Linked DNA regions of Homo sapiens: regions 2 and 3 are each linked to region 1. Evidence: promoter capture Hi-C in 16 types of primary human blood cells and fetal thymus (Javierre and others, 2016). All regions are on one chromosome and are shown on one strand. The core of a region is centred on a gene start or on the middle of the fragment in contact, and the rest is flanking DNA. Distances in the headings are between cores, read along the strand shown.

Evidence for each region. The method cuts DNA at HindIII sites, captures the fragments that hold promoters and counts their contacts. A CHiCAGO score of 5 or more calls a contact.
Region 2: a contact is called between a fragment that was not itself captured here and the fragment with the promoter of KCNQ2 in region 1, in 1 of 17 cell types (endothelial precursors). The highest score is 5.3, in endothelial precursors.
Region 3: a fragment that was not itself captured here is called in contact with the fragment with the promoter of KCNQ2 in region 1 in 1 of 17 cell types (M0 macrophages); the score reaches 5.1 in M0 macrophages.

What each region holds. Positions count from the first base shown.
Region 1 is chr20:63,470,890-63,475,286 of GRCh38, forward strand. It overlaps KCNQ2 (potassium voltage-gated channel subfamily Q member 2), which reads right to left and starts at 1,766. Exons shown (of 17, transcript NM_172107.4): 1 at 1,279-1,766. The coding sequence starts at 1,574. The HindIII fragment of the contact is 3,283 bases long and covers 19-3,301 here.
Region 2 is chr20:64,211,584-64,215,980 of GRCh38, forward strand. MYT1 (myelin transcription factor 1) reads left to right here. Exons shown (of 23, transcript NM_004535.3): 9 at 465-555; 10 at 1,951-2,064. Among named protein-coding and RNA genes, the nearest start is that of PCMTD2, 42 kb to the right of the region's middle. RefSeq lists an enhancer at 1-256. The HindIII fragment of the contact is 2,743 bases long and covers 1,163-3,905 here.
Region 3 is chr20:64,157,202-64,161,598 of GRCh38, forward strand. No RefSeq gene overlaps it. Among named protein-coding and RNA genes, the nearest start is that of MYT1, 5.1 kb to the right of the region's middle. RefSeq lists enhancers at 1,498-2,218, 4,129-4,397. The HindIII fragment of the contact is 3,865 bases long and covers 322-4,186 here.

The sequences.
Region 1 (4,397 bases), core at 516-3,015:
GACCCAGGAGGTCGGAGAAGCTTCTGCTTGGGGAGTCCCAGGCTGGGTGCCCAGGGGCCCTCCACGGAGACACCCTCCCTGTAAGCGGCCTGGCATTTCCCTCTGGGATCTTCTCCCTACCCCAGAACCCTCTCATATCACAGTCCACGGAGGGTCTGCTAAGGGCACACTCAAGGCCACACGCAGGCTGGGGCACACTCGTGGGGCACACACCCCTCTCGGCCCAGGTGGGCGCCCGACCAGCTTGTGACCAGTCTGCCCCTCACTCCCATCCCAAAATGCCTCTCACACAAAATGGCCGGTCCCGGAGCTCAGCGGGTCCCTTGTTCAGCTGGGATGGGAGAGCAAGCGCCCTGGCGCGGGGAGGCTGTGCACACCGGCCGCACAGGCCGCACACGCAGCGGGCCGTGCAATTCCACATGCGAACACCCAGGTGCACACGGACGCAGGCTTCGGCCGCCCCCCGCCAGCCCTGCCCCAGGAGGCAGCCGTTCCCTGAGCCTCGCCCGGGAAGAGGGGACAGCCCCTTCCAGGCCCAGGGCTGGGGGTCCCAGGTCTGCCGCAGCCCCTCCCCCGGGCCTCGCTCTGCCAAGGAGGGGTCCTGAGCCCGGGATGTGCACGGGGGCGGCCGGCGGCTGCAGAGATGGGACAGCGCAGGAGCTGAGCGCAGGAGCTGAGGGGGTTCGCGGGGCCAGGGAGGGGCGTCGGCGCCGAGGGGGCAGGACAGACAGCTGCGCTCAGCCCGGGCTGGGGTGGGGGGGTCATGGGAGGGCCCCTCCCCCATCTCAGGAACCCAGAAGCTCACCCTAGTCTGAGGGAGAGCGGCTCGGGAGGATGGCGGAGGACAGGCCAGACCCCTCCCCCCCGCCCTCGCTTGGTCGGGCGGCCCCAGCCCCGCGGGTCCCCGAGAGTCCCGGAGAGTCCAGACCCAGCGCTGCCGCCGTCCCTCCCCGGCCGGCCCTTTGTTCGGCGCAGAGGCCGCGGGGAGGGGCCTCCCAGGCTGAGGAGGGGGCTGGGGCGGCCGCACGTCTCTGTCCTGCGGGCCTGGAGCCCCCACCCCGACCTGAGCGGCCCCGACCCCGGAATCCTTCCTGCCCGCGCGCTGTACAATCGCTCTCCGGTCTCGGCCCAGCACTCCCGCCGGGGAGCGCCGGCCCCGGACCCAGACCCAGGGGCAGGGAGCCAAACCCGCCGCAGCCAGCCTGGCCGGGGTCGCCGATGGGGTCGCCGATGGGGGTCGCCATGGGGGTCGCCACGGGGGCCCCGCCGGCCACTCACACGTAGGCGTGGTAGATGAACGCCCAGCCGCGCGGCCGCTCCAGCACGTTGTAGAGGAAATTCTGCAGCTTGCGGTAGAAGGCGTTGCGCTTGGGGGGCTTCCCGGCGCCCGCGCCGCCCGCGCGAGGTTTGCTGAGGATGCTGCCGCGCTTGGGGGCCTCGGAGCCGGCGATCAGCAGCGCCCCGTCCCGGGTGGAGTCGGGCGCGCCGGGGTCCAGCCCCACGAAGCCCACCTTCAGCTTCTTCTCCCCGCTCGGGCCGGGGTATACGCCGCCGTTGCGCGACTTCTGCACCATGGTGCCTGGCGGGAGGCGCCCCGGGTCGGGCTCAGGCTCAGCGGGGGCGGAGCGCGGGGGGCGGCGCGGGCCCCAGCCCAGGCCCCCCGGCCGGGAGCCGCATGGCCGAGGCGGCGGTTCCGCACTCCTGCCGGGCTTGGGCCGCGCGCGGAGACGCTGCGGCCACCTCGCTCCGCGCGCACCTCGGCGCCTGGCCCGCGGCCGCGCCGGCTCCGCCCGCCGCCTCGCCCCGCCCCGCGTTAACCCCCGCGACGCCAGTCGAAGGAGAGGGGAGGAGAAGAGAGGGAGGGGAAGGGAGGGGAGAGGGAGGGACGGGGAGGGGAGGGGAGGGGGGAAGGAGAGGAGAGGGGAGGAGAGAAGAGGGAAAGGGAGGGGAGGGGAGGGAGAGGGGACGGGGAGAGGGGAGACAGGAGGGGAGGGGGAGGGGAGGAGAGGGGAATGGGAGGGGAGGAGAGTGGCGGGGACGGGGAGAGGGGAGACAGGAGTGGAGGGGGGAGACAGGAGTGGAGGGGGAGGGGAGGGGGGAGAGGAGGGGGAGTGGGGGAGGGGGAGGGGAGGGCAGGGGGAGAGGAGGGGGAGGCAGAAGGGACCAAGGCCCGCGGGACCAGAGCTCTGGGCTGAGCCTGCCCAATCCCCCGGCCATGTGCACACTGACCCTGCGGTCACCTTTGAGTCCGGTAGTACTAACCAAGTGGACCTGCCTGGTGGCCCCAGCGCTCCTGGGGTCCCAGAGCGGTGCCCAGCCGCCTGAGCAGGACTGGAGTCTTCTCAGCTGGGCCCTGGGAGTGGACGCCTCCGGGAAGGGATGGGGGTAGGGGCTCTCCCCAAGACTCTGTTAGGGCTCAGCCCATGGTGACCTCATGCTCTCGGTGTCAGGGTTGCCCAGGCAGTAGGACCCCCTAGACCCCAGGGTGTGTGCAGGGAGGGTCTGTGGAGGCTGGAGGCACCCTGCAAGGAAAGCAGCCCAGGGGAAAGGGGGTGGCCACAGAGGCCGGGAGGCAAGAAGAGGAGCAAGGGCCATGGGGTGGGGGATGGGAGAGAGTCACTCCTAGAGGGCCTTGAAGCCCCCCAAGGGGCCTGGACTTAGTTATGCAGACCCCAGAAGGGGCCTGTGGCAGGGGCAGGGACTGGAGGGTGGCCCCAGGGCAGCAGACAGGCCAGCAGGAAGCCCAGTGCCACACCTCGGGACAAAGGAGGCAGATCTGTGCCTCCTGGACACAGATGGGACGGTGTTTCCTTGGGGGCAAGTGCGCGGAGGTGGCCTCCCCCCTGCCGGCAGCCATGTGTCCTGGGAGGGGTCCCTCTGGAGCTGCTGCTGGGAGACCAAGGGACCCCTGCGGCTCAGTGCTGCCCGCCCTGTGAGGTGCCCCGCCACTGGGCCTTCCTCTGCACATCCAGGAGGGGTGTCATCTTCGAGTGCGTCTCTGACTACATCCAGCCTGTTTGCACGTTCGCCTGGCACCATGGGTTCTACCCAGAGAAAGGCCCTCTGCTGAATCGCTGGCGCCGTCCTCGCAGGTGACCTGCTCATAAAACAGCCCTAACCCTGGTGCAGAGTGAGCTCTTGAGTTGTGTTTGCCCTTTGGTTTCCAGAGCTAGTGGCCACGGGGCCTGTTTTTGTTGTTGTTGTTTTGTTTTTAACTAGGCTGAATACAGAAGGGTCGGTGCAGGCAGAATGCTAACCTGTACGTTATCCAGGACGTTGGGGATAGACGGCAACTTACACAAGCTTGTGCACATCCAGGGGTACTTTCTGGATCCCCGCCTCCCTGCCTCTGTGCCCACGCATTGGCTGTGATTACCAGCATGAAGTGGGCTTGCCCCAAGCGGCTGCGGTTTCTCTCGATTGTTAAGGGAGGAGGCACCAGCCTGGTGCTTTCAGGGGAGGGAGAGGACTTCAGTATGCAGAAGGAAGAGAGCACCGTGGCATCTCCCTGCACACGCTGGCTGGTGCCGCTGGTCTTTCCCACTCACCAGAAGACCCGAGGGAGCAGCCGTAGCTCAAAATGTAAACCCTGCAGGGCTGGGGCCCCTCATCCTGTGGGGGGAAGCCCCAGACTATCCGGTGCCCCTCGGCAGTGCCCGGGCTACACGTGACCTCTCCTGGGCAAGCAGTCATCTCAGGTTTGATGTCAGAGCCCAGTGGGACCCAAGGTCAGGGCTGATCCACAGAGGATGAAGGAAAAGTGACCCCAGTTCCCGTTTGAGCAGATGCACCAGAGCTGAGATGGGAGCAAGGATTAAGGTGCTCTGGTGTCCAGGACATTGGGAGAGACAAACCTGTTCATCTTATTTTTCAGAAAAAAAAGGGGAAAACCCTGCTGAGGTCTTGGGGAGCCATCGGCTGGCTTCACAGCCTCCTGGGGGTGGCCGAGAGTGGCATCCCCCGTGGGGATGCCGGGCTGGAGGGGCCGGCTCAGGATGCAGGTGGAGCTTTGCACCCTGCAGCTCGCGGTTCTCCCGTCTACAAATGGCGTTGGCTCCAGCAGCTTTGCCACACCTTGGAAGGTTCTGGAAAGTGAATCCTGCATCAAGGCTTGAAAATCCTTGCTTCCTCCTTTGTTTAGGATGTCCTTTCAAAGAGCTAGCTCATTAATCATTTATGTTTTTAATTTTGTGTCTTGCACACCCACGGGCTACATTGTCAGCAATCTGGTTACCCGCATGCCTGCCCCCTGTCCCCTCCTCTGCGCCCAGGCAAAGTGGGTCGTGAAAATGCCCAGTTGGGGTAAATTTCATCCAAGCAGGAGGAATTCCATTTATGTAAAAATAGATGGGAAAAGCGTTCAGGCTCAAACAATCTTTGCCAAGACCGCATCGACA
Region 2 (4,397 bases), core at 1,284-3,783, 740 kb after region 1:
TCAGAGCCCACAGTAACAGATCGATGGGAGGGGGACAGGCTAGTGCCATCCAAGCTGGGAAGGGAGAGGTCTTCTTGCAGCAACCTCTGTGCCCTGAAAGCTTAGGAAGCAAATACTTGTTCTTATGTTTAGGCTAGAAGCAGTAATTGTGAAAATTAAATTTAAAGGAGCAAACCACAGAATGAGAGGTTTTAAAGCTGAGTCTGGTTTCTGCCGCAGGAGGGAGGGACCACAGTGGTGGTGGCGGTGGGGGGCATGCCCTGACCAGGCTGAGGGTGGGGAGTTGTGTCTGCAGGCTCTTGGGGGCTGGAGCTGCCCTGCGTTGCTGTGTCCCCCACCTGCCTACCAAGCAGCAGCCTTTGGACAAGGCTCCTGCACCCTCCTCAGCCTGTGCTCCCCACACAGCTGGCGCTCCCCAGATTCTCTGACAGCCTCGGCTCCCTCCACCCCCTGTTCTCTTACAGTCTTAGCCATGCATGAGAACGTGCTGAAGTGCCCCACTCCTGGCTGCACAGGCCAGGGTCACGTGAACAGCAACCGCAACACGCACAGAAGGTACTTGGACTGAGCTGGGCCGTAGTGGGGGCCAGGGTGGGGGCCGTGGTGGGGGCCAGGGTGGGGGCCGTGGTGGGGGCCAGGGTGGGGGCCGTGGTGGGGGCCAGGGTGGGGGCCGTGGTGGGGGGCTCCACGTGGGGTAGGGCACCTGGGTTGGGCCTGTGTGTCCCTGCCTGGGCCGTGAGCCCGTGACCTGGGACGGGGCTCTGGCCTGCCTGGGGCTCCCTGTGTGCTACCCTTCTCCCAGCCTGCCGCCCTGAGGAGTGGGTACAAGGTCAGGGCACACCTGGGCGGTGAGGGGCCTTTGTGAGGGCAGAGTGGCAACTGGAGGTGCAGTCACCCAGTGGTGTTGCTGCCTTAACCCTACGAGCTCCCGAGAGAGCAGGGGGCGGCCTGCAGAGGAGGGAGCAATGCACCCTCTGTGAAGAGAGGTACAACAACCATGTGAGAGCCAGGTGAATACTTTGTGTCCTACCCACATTCAGAAAACCTCTGCACACTGGCTCTTGCTCCTGAGTGGGAAGGGCAGACATGAACAGTAACCTCGGCAGGCCAGGACTGTGCTCTGGGCTGCTTTGTGGGAGTTCTGAGGCCCAGGTGGAAGTGAAGCTTCCCGACCACCCTCGAGGTGTAGTTGTTGACTGGTCTTCTATGGTGAGGGGGGACTACTCCTCCAGCCTTACCCTAAGTGCCATGGGTGGCCGTGGCCTCGGTGGGATATGCTTTCCCCCAGCAGGCTTATGCTCAGCTGAAAGGACTGCCAGAGCTTTTGAGGTCACTTCATTTGAAAAGAGGCCAGTTCCCCATTACGTCACCTCCCTGGGCTGGCTGAGGGACTGGCGCTGGAGCTCACAGTTAACTTTATTCTGACAGATGAAGCTGCTGCCTCCGTGTCTTAGACTGAGTACTTTCCTGGGCCTGTGTCATCCAGGGTCAGTGCCCAGGCTGTGGTCCAAGTGGGGCCCTGGGCTGCCCCAGAGCAGCTAACAGAACAAGCGCCAGAGAGGGCTGCAGAATCCAGCCCTGCAAGCTGGGAAGGGAGAGGAAGGGGGTGAGGGCAAGCCTGTCTCCCAGACCCATGCAGAGGAGGCATCTTTGCCCAGAGCTTTCAAGGCCTTTAGGATATATTTCATCTTTGTGTGTCCTTGGCATAGAATGTTCCAAAACAGAAACTGACTGGGCAGCTTGTACTGTGAGGGCTCAAGAACAGAGCCAGAGAGAAAACCCCTGTCCTGCAGAATGACAGGGTTATTCCCGGCTCTGGGCTTCTCTGGAGTTCACCTGGAGTTCTCACATCTGAATGACCTTGCCGTGAGACACCCACACACACAGACACCCAGGACAGGACAGGCATGGAGGGGAAGGCTCAGAAACCCCTCCTCTTCCTTCCTCTAGTTTGTCTGGGTGTCCCATTGCTGCCGCCGAAAAATTAGCCAAATCCCATGAGAAGCAGCAGCCGCAGACAGGAGATCCTTCCAAGAGTAGCTCCAATTCCGATCGGATCCTCAGGTGAGTGAGATGAGCCACAGAACTGAAGAGGCTGCCTCCCAAATGCCTGCAGAGGGCTTCTCAGTCTCCCGCAGGCTGTATGTGCATGTGTGTGAGTGCATGTGTGTGAGTGTACGTGCATGTGAGTGTACGTGCATGTGAGTGTGCACATGCCCCGGGCCCCCCAGGAGCAGAACTGCGGGGCAGTTTTGGAGCCACACAGGACAGAGTCTCATGTCTACCACATTCGCCAGTGCCTCAGCCAAAGCGCAAACTCCTGCACAGTTGCCTCTGCCTCCGACATGGGGCTCTGCCTCCTTGGAGTCGTCTGATGTGACCACTTGAGGCCCCTTGGGGATTCATTTGTGGAGATGCTGGTCCTGTCTGGAAAGAGCAGACTGCACCAGCCAAGGACCACGGACGTCCAGGAAGCACCATGAGCCACTAATCCTTGGCCGTCCTGCCTGTCCCTCCCCGACCCCAGGGATAGACCCCAAGTCAAGGAAGAGGGTGGGTGCAGGCTTTGCTCCCCAGAGTGCTTTGTGGCCCCTGAGGTTCTGAGATCACAGTAGGTGTGTGTGAACATGTGGGAGCGTGTGTGTGCATGTTCACACGCCTGTTTGTGTTTGCATATGTGCGGGTATGTTTACATGTGCGTGCAAGTCCATGTGTATGTGAACACGTGGGAGCGTGTGTGTGCATGTTCACACGCCTGTTTGTGTTCGCATATGTGCGAGTATGTTTACATGTGCGTGCAAGTCCATGTGTGTGTGCATGTGTAAATTTGGCTCTAATCAATAAGGATCTTTCAGAATGTGTCCCATTAGTGTCCCCTCCTTCCATGTGGCTCTAAGAAGTAAGTGCCACAAATAAGGCCAGAGGCTCAGAGAGTTGCCCAAGGCCACCCTGCCCATCCTGCCTGGCTTCAAAGTCTCTCCTCTATGGAGCTGAGTCCTTGGACCACGGTACCCACTGTCGAAGAGGACACTTCCACTGCTCCTGTCTTCACCTGCAGACACCCTGCTCCCCACTCCCGTGAGGAACTAGAACTCACACACAGCTCCTCCTCCCCAGCTCTCAGACCCCTGTTCCATATCTGTCTCACCAGACAAGAGTGTAGGAGACCCCGGCTGGGGTGAGCGTGAATGACTGCATAGCCCCTTCCACTGTCCGCCTCCTTTCGGGGCCCACCTGACCCCGGCCCTTCCTGGCACATAATTGGCAAAGTTCCAGCCAGATGATCTTCGCTGCTCACCTTGGCTGTGTCATGCCCAGGCCCTTCCCTGGTCTGCTCCAGAGTGTTCCTCTGAAGGTGCAATTCCCACACGTGGGATCTCTGGGCAGAGCACAGAGACTTGCCTTCCTGCTCTGTGGGCATGCTTGCCATCCCACACACAGGCACCTTCAGCCCTGCAGGTCCCAGCAGGCTGCTTTCCACCAGCTGGCTCTCACAATGGTTTGAAGCTGCTTTTTTCCTCTATCTTATTTGCTGTTCCCTCCAGCTTCCTGTCAGTTGCTAATTCAATCCTTTCCCTCTTTGATCTAAATCACCGATAAAATGTCAAACCGCAGATTTGGCCCCCGTGTGAGGCCAGGCAGGGGTGTCAAACAGGCTCCAACTTTGGAGACTGCACTCCCTGGGACTATGACCTCAGTTTGTTCACTTATAAAAGTAGGACAACAAACTAAGTCGCTCATGAGGCTCAAGTGACACTCTGCCGCCCTCAGCCCATGGTGAATACTCACTGAACGCTAGAGAGATTGTGGCTAGGGTGGAGGAGGCCTCCCGTTAGGCCCTTTTGATTCTATCCAGCCCACATTTCTGGCTATCGAACTTTGGGGTGTGAGGACGGGCTTTGCAAAGCTTCGTTGGCATTGTGGACAATAAGTGTACAGATTCTGACTGAAGCCTTGGTCAAGGAAGCCATCAACGGTGGTACCAATGTTAAGCTTATTATTATTATTATTATTTTTAGTGACAGAGTGTCACTCTGTTGCTCAGGCTGGAGTGCAGTGGTTTCAATCATAACTCACTATAACCTCAAACTCCTGGTCTCAAGTGATCCTCCCACCTCAGCCTCCCGAGTACCTAGGAATACAGATGTGCCATCATACCTGCCTATTTTTTTTGCGTTTTTTTTTTTTTCTTTTTTTTGTAGAGAGGGTCTCACTAGGTTGCCCAAGCCGGTTTCTTACTCCTGGCTTCAACAGACCTGCCTTGGCCTCCAAAAGTGCTTGGATTATAGACATAAGCCACCATACCTGACCCAATGTTAAGTTTAAAGTTAGTTTTTTCCCTCCTGGCCTCACTCTTGCAACTTTTCTATCTGCCACTGGGGTCAGGATCCATCCTG
Region 3 (4,397 bases), core at 1,004-3,503, 690 kb after region 1:
CCAGAGCTGCATCCCACACACGGGGCTGGACTCTCCCGGCTGTGGGGTGAGGCTGGGCCGCATGGCCTATGGCAAATGCCCCTCAAACCCTAATGCATCCACGGTCAACCTGGTGAGTTCTGACTCAGCCTGGCCAGGTTCCCCTGGAGCTGGCCCCCTGAGCACGTGTTGAGTTGGGGTGGGGGAGCTGGAGGGCCTTTCTCGAGCAGAACTTCAGAGAGGAGCGCTGGCCCTGTCTTTCCTGATTCTGAACGTGTCCAAGTCGTTTCATCACGTGATGGATTACCAGGCTGGTTGGTTCTACCGAAAGGCAGCAGCACAAGCTTTTCCTGGATTTCTCACCATTGTTCCTTTAAATAATCAGTCTTAATTAACTCCATCCGAAGAACATATTTTCCCCAAGGGTAGGGAGTCCCAGTCAGGTGGAGCAAGTTGGAACTGCAAACTGCATTTGATAGCTGTGGTGTTGGGAGGAGCCCCCTGGCTACTGCGAGGGGTGTCTCCGTGATGGGCGGGCAGATGGATCAGCACCAACCCCTGCTGGCACTTTCTGACATTTCTGTTGCCCTCATTTGATAGATCGGGAAACTGAGTCACAGAAAGGTTTGGCAATCTGCCCCAGGTCACTTCCCCTAAGCACAGACGTCCTTGTGGACGAGGAGAAGAGGCAGAACTCACAGGGGAAAACCCTTCTTCCACACAGCATCTGCTGTGGCCAGCTGCCCCCACCTGCCCCTGTCCCCACCTGTCCCTGTCCCCAACCTGCCCCACCTGTCCCCGTCCCCACCTGCTCCTGTCCCCACCTTTCCCATCTGCCCCTGTCCCCATCCTGTCCCCACCTGCCCCACCTGCCCCACCCATCCCTGTGCCCAACCTGCCCCACCTGCCCCTGTCCCCACCTGTTCCTGTCCCTACCTGCCCCACTTGTCCCTGTCCTCACCTGCCCCACCTACCCCTGCCCCCACCTGCCCCTGTCCCTGCCTATCCTTGTCCTGCCCACCTGTTCATGTCCTCACCTGTTCCTGTCCCCCACCTGCCCCTGTCCTCACCTGCCCCACCTGCTCCATCCCACCTGTCCCTGTCCCCACCTGTCTTTGTCTCCACCTGCCCCATCCCCACCTGCCCCACCTGCCCCTGTCCTCACCTGTCCCACCTGCCCCTGTCCCCACCTGCCCAACCTGTCTGTGTCCCCCACCTGCCCCTCTGGTCCCTGCCACCACCTGCCCCACCTACCCCTTTCCCCTACCTGCCCCACATGCCCCACCTGTGTCCCCCACCTGCTCCACCTGCCCCACTTGTCTGTGTCCCCCACCTGCCCCACTTGTCTGTGTCCCCCACCTGCTCCACTGGCCCCTGCCACCACCTGCCCCACCTACCCCTTTCCCCGACCTGCCCCACCTGTCCCTGTCCCCACCTGCCCCACCTGCCCCTGTCCTCACCTGCCCAACCTGTCTGTGTCCCCCACCTGCCCCACTGGTCCCTGCCACCACCTGCCCCACCTGACCCCGCCCCTCTTCTACCTTCCTGACCCCATCCCCTCCCCTCCCCCTACTTGCTCCACCTGTCTCACCACTGCCATATGCCCCTCCTGGCCCCACCTGTCCTACCTGTCTCCCCTGCCTCCAACCTGCCCCTCTTTTGCCCCCCACATGTCCCCCCTCCCCCCTCCTACCTCCACCTGCCCCACCTGTCTCCCCACCCCTACCTGCCCCTCTTGGCCTCCCACTTGTCCCCCCTGCACCCACCTGCTTCCTCCTGCTTCTCCTGCACGCTCACCAGCCTCTGAGCACCTTCACCCCTCGATGTTCTCTCCTCTAAACAAGATGACTCACCATTTATTTCCAGCCTAATCTCTGCCCCCAGCCTCAGCCTCCATACTGTCACCCTTGTTGACGGTGTCACCTGGTGACTAACAGGCGCTCAGACATCCCAGCAGAGCCAGCAACTCCCACAAATCTGCCCTCCTTCAGCGTCTCCCTCTCAGGGGGTGCTGCCGCCCACCTCATGGCTCTGGCCAGCCCTGGAGTCTCCTGTGGCCTCTCTGTCCCTACCACATCCAGACCCTCAGCAACCCGATTCATTCCTGAGGGGGTGTCCCAACTCGAATGCAATTCGTCACTTCTCTTGGGACACCCTTTACCGTCTATTGCCGCCCAGTAGCACTCACCATAGACCTCACTGAAGATGTAAATGTTAAACATTTTGCTCTTGGTCACCCAGCTGGGAGGGGCCGGTCAGGGGTCAGTCCAGATCTGCCTCCTCCAAAGGTTTGAACCCTCCATACTCCGGGCCTCCCCCTCAGTGCTGCCCTGGATGGGAGAGACTAGCCTGGACTTGGCCACGTGTTGGTAGAGGTAAGCCAGCATCACCTGGGCCTCCACCTGTCCCCTGCAGGGACAGACACCTGCAGAACCTGAGGACCAGGAGGTGACCCTGAGCTGCCTGGGGTGATGGGAGCTTCCCTCGGCATCAGGGGAAGCTGGCCCAGAGGACAGCCGGGCTCCATGGTGAGGCCAAGTTCATCGTTTCAAAGGGCCCCTGTGGGCAGTGAAAGGTCGTGGGCCCAGTTCGAGGGACTAGGAATCATTCTGGAAGAGGCCTCTGCAGTGCCCACCTTCACTCCCATCCACACACCCTGCCCCTCCCTGGCCCTGGCGCGGCTGTAGCTGCTGGAAGGTCCAGGTCCTTCTGGGCAGCCCTCTCTCCCTGCCCTTTCCTTCCTGCACACCCCACCCTCTGCCTGCAGGGCCTGAGGTTGTCGAGGGATTCTTGACTTCTACAGTTTGCCTCCCCCTGGCACCTCCCACCATACCTTGTGCCTGGGATCTGGTGGTGGGGAGTCAACCACACCAGCTGAGGGCCCTCAGGGGCCTTGTCTCAACAGGCAGTGATTGGGTTGTAGGGAGCGAGACCTGACCCCACTCATGCATCCTGGCTGGTTCCCCACCAGGTTTCAGGCTGGACCTAGTGTGGCAGTTCCGAGAGAGGAAGCGGGGGAAGGGATGCATCTTCAGGAAGGGCCCCCTCCCCTCACTCACTGTGAGTCCATTACTGTGTGGGAAGGGCTGTGTCTCTGCCTCCCCTCACTCCCCTTCCCTGGCCCTGCGGGGTGGGGGAGAGATTGTCTGGGGCCTGAGCCCATTGTGTGGAGAAGAGAGCCTCATTGGCAGGCAGCCGGGGCATCAATTTGTGATTATCTGCTCCCTGGTCTTGATTGGCTGGATGCAGTGGGGTCTCCCCAGGGCCCTGGGACACAAGTTTGTGCAGCAACTTTTTCCAGCATGAAGTGACGTGTGTTCCCAGAGAGAAGGTGCACCCCCTGGCCAGGATGACGCTCTGCGGGACCTTCCTGGGTGCGTACCACCCCCAGCCCCTCGCGTCCCTCCCTGGTCTGTTCACAAGTTTCTGCGAAGATGCCAAAGGGACTAATTAGCTGTGTGTGTCCCCCCCTCAGAGCTCAGTGCTCTTTTCTGGGCAGCCAAGGAGGTGACAGACATGCTCCCTCCTGAACAATGGCCAGGGCCCCTGGGGAAACAGCCACCTCCCCTTCTAGCGGATCCCGTGGCTTGCAGAAGTGCTGACGGCACAGAGCCCTGTGAACGCTGCCCTGCAGAAGGTTGGAGGTGGGAGGGCGGTGGGCAGGGTGTGTGCAGAGGCCAGCTGGGCCTTCTTTCTGTTGATTTACCTGCCTGGATCTGCCTGGCAGGCCATATAGCTGGTGGGTGTCAGGAGCCCTTGGCCTGGAGCAAGGCTCTGTGAGACTCTGTGAGAAGGTGGCAGAGAGAATGTGTGTGCGCGCGCGCGTGCGCGCGACAGATGTCCCCTGGGACTTAACTGTAGCTAAGGGGCTTTGGCCAGGGCCGCTGCTGCTTGCGTCCTCATCACACTCAAAGTTGCTGTGTGTGTGAGTGCACGTGTGTGAGTGTGCATATGTATGTGAGGGTCTCACAAACTGGATGCCAAATGTTTGTGAGCGTCTGCGTGAGTGTGAGACAGAAACACAAAGTCAGCCCCGAGTGTGGCGGAGAGTGGATCCCGGTTTTGTTTGCTCCATCTGCCAGGGCCGGCCTGGGGCAGCACCCCCGCCCTCAGCTGTTCTATACAATATTAATGCTCACCATCTCGGCCTCACACAACGGCCCTAATTGTCGTCTGCAGCATTAAGGCAGGCGCCCATCTGCGGGGAAGCTTTCAGAAGGAAACAAGAAAACCCTCACCCCCAGCTGGTCACCGGAGAAGGTGGTGCCAATTACAGATGCAGAAAGTTTAGACCAAAATTACTTGAAAGAGTTTTTATGAAGCAAATGAACTGACACTTGGAATGTCTGTGTGCAGATTTGCACAAGTAATTACACTTTATTTGAAATGATCTTACCAGCTAAGCGATCATTAAGCCT